Regions from separate parts of the Homo sapiens genome. Here region 2 is linked to region 1. The links are contacts of gene promoters, found by promoter capture Hi-C in blood cells and fetal thymus (Javierre and others, 2016). All regions are on one chromosome and are shown on one strand. The core of a region is centred on a gene start or on the middle of the fragment in contact, and the rest is flanking DNA. Distances in the headings are between cores, read along the strand shown. Region 1 holds the start of CHEK1 (checkpoint kinase 1). Region 2 overlaps SNX19 (sorting nexin 19).

Evidence for each region. The method cuts DNA at HindIII sites, captures the fragments that hold promoters and counts their contacts. A CHiCAGO score of 5 or more calls a contact.
Region 2: a contact is called between a fragment that was not itself captured here and the fragment with the promoter of CHEK1 in region 1, in 1 of 17 cell types (fetal thymus). The highest score is 5.3, in fetal thymus.

What each region holds. Positions count from the first base shown.
Region 1 is chr11:125,623,781-125,626,458 of GRCh38, forward strand. CHEK1 (checkpoint kinase 1) reads left to right here and starts at 1,383. Exons shown (of 13, transcript NM_001114122.3): 1 at 1,383-2,232. LOC118567325 (a long non-coding RNA gene) reads right to left here and starts at 2,114. Exons shown (of 1, transcript NR_170378.1): 1 at 1,357-2,114. RefSeq lists an enhancer at 1,549-2,058. The HindIII fragment of the contact is 3,445 bases long and covers 1-2,678 here.
Region 2 is chr11:130,910,328-130,913,005 of GRCh38, forward strand. It overlaps SNX19 (sorting nexin 19), which reads right to left. Exons shown (of 11, transcript NM_014758.3): 2 at 1,306-1,444; 3 at 1-43. Among named protein-coding and RNA genes, the nearest start is that of SNX19, 4.8 kb to the right of the region's middle. The HindIII fragment of the contact is 1,631 bases long and covers 436-2,066 here.

The DNA of each region.
Region 1 (2,678 bases), core at 133-2,632:
GTGGGCTTTCAGAAGAGAATAGAGGCTATTTCTATGTATTCTGTCTTTAACTGGTATTCTGCTGGAGTCTGTATATCTTTTTTTTTTTTTTTTTCAGGCTAAAAAGACTCCATCAGACACACAGGAAATTTGCAGGTCTTCCTCTTCGTATTCTTTGTTTTCAGCACACAGTGAGGAAACAAGAGAAAATGGGATAAATGATATAAAAACTTGCTTTTATTTTTATACCAGGCCCTGTGGCTCGCTTCTGTAATCCCAGTGACTTGGGATGCTGAGGTAGGAGGATCACTTGAGCTCAGGAGTTCCAGGCTGCAGTGAGCTAAGACTGCCCAATTGCACTCCAGCCTGGGTGACAGAGCAACACACCCTGTCTCCAAAAACAACAAACTGTAAAAAGATTACATGAAGCCTAATCTGTGATGTCATGATTCAAAACTATACACATAAGCATTTTAAGAGTTTTTTCCTTGATTTTTGTTCCTGACTTTGCTTCTTTAAAAGAAATGTGTGTTTTTGTTGTTGGTTGTTTGTTTTTGAGACGGAGTCTTGCTCTGTTGCCCAGGCTGGAGTGCAGTGGCACAATCTCTGCTCACTGCAGCCTCTGCCTCCTGGGTAGCTGGGATTACAGGCACTCGCCATCGTGCCCGGCTAATTTTTGTATTTTTAGTAGAGACGGGGGTTTCACCATGTTGGCCAGGCTGGTCTTGAACTGCTGACCTCAGGTGATCCATACGCCTCAGCTTCCCAAAGTGTTGGGATTACACGTGTGAGCCACCAGGCCCCGGCCTTGAGTAACATTTTATACTTGTTTCACTTTACTATTATCATAATAGCCAGTTATGCTTAGTGTTTGTATGTGGCCCAGTCTTAAGGACTAAGAAAATATATATGTATATATATAAAATATATACATATAAAAAAATATGTTTTTTTCCTACGGAATCATGCTGTTGCCCAGGCTGGAGTGCAGTAGTGCTCACTAACCTCTAACTCCTGGACTCAAACGATTGTTCTGCTTAGGCCTCCCAAGTAGCTAGGGCTACAGGGACACACCACCAAGCCCGACTAATTCCTAAATTTTTTTATTTGTAGAGATGGGGTCTCCCTATGTTCCCCAGGCTGGTCCTGAACTCCTGGCCTCAAGCCATTCTCCTGCCTCGCCTTCCCAAAGTGCTGGAATTACAGGCAGGAGCCACTGCGCCCGGCCAGTGCTGGAGAATGTAATGGAGATGATCCTGCCTATCCCTGAGTTCCAGTCTAGTTTACTGTCAGAGAATACTTATTTCCATTTTTCCTATTTTGTTCTTGAGTCTCTTTCCTCAGAATTTACTTTTCCACTTAAATGACGTACGCAGCTTTTAAATTTGCGTTGTAAGATTTATTTTGGCTCTCCCCGCCTGTTCTTTGCACATTAAAAATGAAAAAGTTTGTAGAACTAAGCTAAGCAGATGGTCTTCCTGCAAAAAGACCGGGCTGAAGTAAAGCATTGTTTTGGAGCTGGTTCACAGAAAAAAGGCAAAACTGGTTATCCTGACTTCAAGCTCCAACATAAACTGCTCGCTTTCTCCGGGAAACTTGCCCCGCCACACACACTTGACTGCGTGGCCAGTTCTTTCGAAGCCTCTCGCTCCCAACACGGAGTTCCTCCCATTTCTTCACAGTCGGCTCTCAGCAGCTGCTGCTGGTTTCTCGGCTCCAGCACCACGAGTACCGCACTCTGAGGTTTACAAAGCACTCTGCTTCACCGACTGTGATCCTCACAGTCCTGTCCGGTGGCCTCACGCAGGTGGCGGTGCAGCCTTTCAGGCCCAGAGCGGCCAGGAGCGAAGCCCGCAGCCCCGCCTGGAAGCGCAGCGCGGTCGGTCGCGCGCCCCTGAGGCTTGGAGGCCTGGGCTTCCCCCAGCAGCGCTCGAGCACCGCCCAGTCGAGCCTCACACCGGATGCCACTTCATATTTGGGCCCAGAGCTCAATTCGCGCCGATGCGGTCCGCCGTCCTTAAATCTCTTCAGCCAGGATCTCTCCCCGACTGCAAAGCAGCCCTGGGCGGGAGCGGCAACATCTCCACGTCACCCTTTTGGAGCCGCCGACATTCAGAGGGGCAGGACACGGGAACGCGCGCTGTCTTGCTTTACGGCGCGGGTGCGCGAGTTTGCGGCAGCGTGACGCCCTCAAGTTTTGGCGGGAAAAGCGCTGCATTTGGATTCCTGCAGTGGTGGGCAAAGGACAGTCCGGTGAGGAAGGGCGGCCGGTAGAGTAGGGAAGGTTTCTAAAGAAGGAGTTCGGGGTCTAGATTAGTGAGGGAGGGCATGGTGGGAGAAAGTTAGCATTGACTAGCGCAGGGGATTGGAGAGACTCCTGCGGAGGGGCGGTTTCGGAGGGTGGAGGAATGGTACCAGGAGGTTCCCGTTGTGGGGGCGGGGGCAGGAGGGACTAACCCGCTGCTAGCTAAGAACCCCAAGGAAGAGTCCCAGCCCTTCCTTTCGCCTCTGGGGGCAGTTTGGCCCCGCCCCGGCCTTTGGGACGGGTGGGGCTGTGGATGGGGATGGGAATTGGAATTGAGCAATTGGGAGGAGGCGCTGCCGCAGGCGTTTTCTGCCCCATACCGCTCCCTATATCCTCTTCCTCTCTTCCCCAGACCCCCACCTCTCCCTCCTCCTTCCCCAGTCGTTCGCCGGAA
Region 2 (2,678 bases), core at 1-2,500, 5.3 Mb after region 1:
CCCAATGGAAGATCTGGAAAGAGCTTTTTAGGACCCTTCACATCTTCCAAAAAAAAAAAAAATCAAAATATTCACTCATTTAACATTCACAGAGAGCTATTCCATATAAAACATATAAAGAAAACAGAACTATTGAATATATTTCCTTGGATTAAAAAAAACAATTTCAGGACTTCCAAATATACATACGATCCATATGATCCATATAACACTAAATTGTTACAAGAGAGGGCTCTGAAGTCCAGAGACCCAAGTTTAAATCTGGGCTCAATCCCTACTATAATGATGATCTTAGGCCATTTGTGTTATCTTTCTGACTCTGTTTCTCTTCTACAAGATGAGGATAATGAGGGCACCTATCTCACAGGCTGACGGGAGCATTAAAAGAGCTAATACGTGTAAAGTGCTTAGGAGAGAACCTGGCGCATATTTTCAAGCTTGGCTCAGTATTAGCTATTGTGTTAAGAAAGAAAATACATAATTTATGCCCAAACTTATTCAACTATTTGGGTAATCATTTTTAAAAAACAAAGTAACCAGTTACTAATCCTTAAGAGTGAAATTTTATTACATTAAAAAATATTTGGCTGGGCGTAGTAGCTCACATCTGTAATCCCAGCACTTTAGGAGGCCGAGGTGGGTAGATTGCTTGAGGTCAGGAGTTCAAGACCAGCCTGACCAACATGGTGAAACCCCATCTCTACTAAAAATACAAAAATTAGCCAGGCGTGGTGGCGGGCGCCTGTAATCCTAGCTACTCTGGAGGCTGAGGCAGGAGAATCGCCTGAACCTGGGAGGCGGAGGTTGCAGTGAGCCGAGATTGCACCATTGCACTCCAGCATGGGGGACAGAGCGAGACTCCATGTCAAAAAAAAAAAAAAAAGGTTCCCCATGCCTGAGAGTTGTCATAACAGCACACAAAAGATCTGGGTGTTAAGGAAAGAAGGTGGCAACAACTTCTGTGTAATATTTTAATATTTAAGAACCACCAATCTATGAATCTGGAAAAGTTAATTTAACTCCTCACACCAACTTACAGGCACAGGTGGAAATGTGAACACTTATTTTTTAATCTTAAACTAGATGGGGCTCCAGAACAAAGCAGTTGGCAGTAAAGGACTACCTCTGAAAGAATGTGATTGCTGCTGTCCAGCACTAAACTTCAAAACTCCTGAAGCAAATCCAGGGAGCAGAGAACCTTGAAACGGCATTCTCCTCCCCGATCCCTCCCATAAACCAACAGGCCAATCAGCGTGGCTCGACGTGGGAAGCAAGCGGGCAGTAGGGGTTGGGGAAACTCCTGACTTTTGATGAACTTTCGTAGATCTGGTTTCTCCTCCAGACGGGTCTGCAGATTCAAGAACTCCCGATAGCGACGATTCACAGTGTGGTAGGCCAGCTGCTGCAGGCCGCTGCTGTTTTCACCGTCAAGGGCTGTCTCGTACTGTTCAACGAACAAATTGATTGACTCAATCAGCCGGGTTTCAGCAATCTTCTATTCTGGCTTTACTGACTACTTGGTCAATGGCCACATAGCAAGAGTACGAAACTAAGAACAAAGGGAGGGAGTATGTTCCTATTCTGTTCCAGAACCTCCTATATCTAATTGCTTAGAAAGTCAGAAATGAGTTTCACTCCTCCGCACTACTACTTTCATCTGAAAGCTCCCTCTCCCAGATACTTTCTTGACTTATAAAAATGGCTACATAACTGTTTTTCAAATGAATATTTGAATAGAAGGCATAACATCCATAAAAATGATACTGCCTCTATCACCTTTAAATTACAGGGCTAAACATCATAAGGGGCAAACCATTTTTCCATTATACTCTCCCGTGATTATTTATATTAGTTAAGGGAAGAAGAAGTAATCCAAACAGCAGATATAAATCATTTGTTTATCTGGAATAAATTAAAGGGTATTTGTTTTGTTTCACGCAGATTAATTTTCCTAATTGTTATTCTTAGAGCTAAACTGAATTTTTCCTAAGTACGTATCATCTGTATCACAGAAGTCACATGAAAATTGGAGATGTGATAAGGGGTCAAAGTCCACTGTCTTCCTAAGCTTAGAGGGCTGGTATGTGGAAAAGACGACTTATATCTCATGTTCCCCAAAGAGTGAATACCACGGATGGCATGGAATCTGCAACTCAGCATGGGGGCACACTTCTTGACAGGGTAGTTAAGACACAATGAAACGCTGTGGGAGAAGTATATATGTGCGCCTTCTCATTAGGAATGGGCTATTATTTTTCGGTTGAGGTATACTGTGGGCAAGAGGTGGAAAAAACTACCTCCTCGTTGGTGGGAGTTGTGGCTGGTGCTTTACAATTTTCTGGAGACAGGGTATTCATTATGAGCTGATGTGAGCAAAGCAGTCCCTCAGAACAGCACTGAGAAGGAAAGACCAAGTAAGAGCAACAGGTGGCATTCAGGGTGGGGCTCTCAAGCCTGGAGCATTTGGAACTATGAGGCTTTCTGTGGAATATGCTGCTCCTCGAGGGCCAATTTTCAACACCGTTATGGTTACTTCCATCACATAAACCGAAAACTATTTACTATCAGAAAGTATAATAATATTGATATACAATTTAAAATCAGTTATATGTCCATATAAAAATCTAAACCCAATTTCAAACTACTCATAATTGGCTATATTATTTCGTTCTCATTTT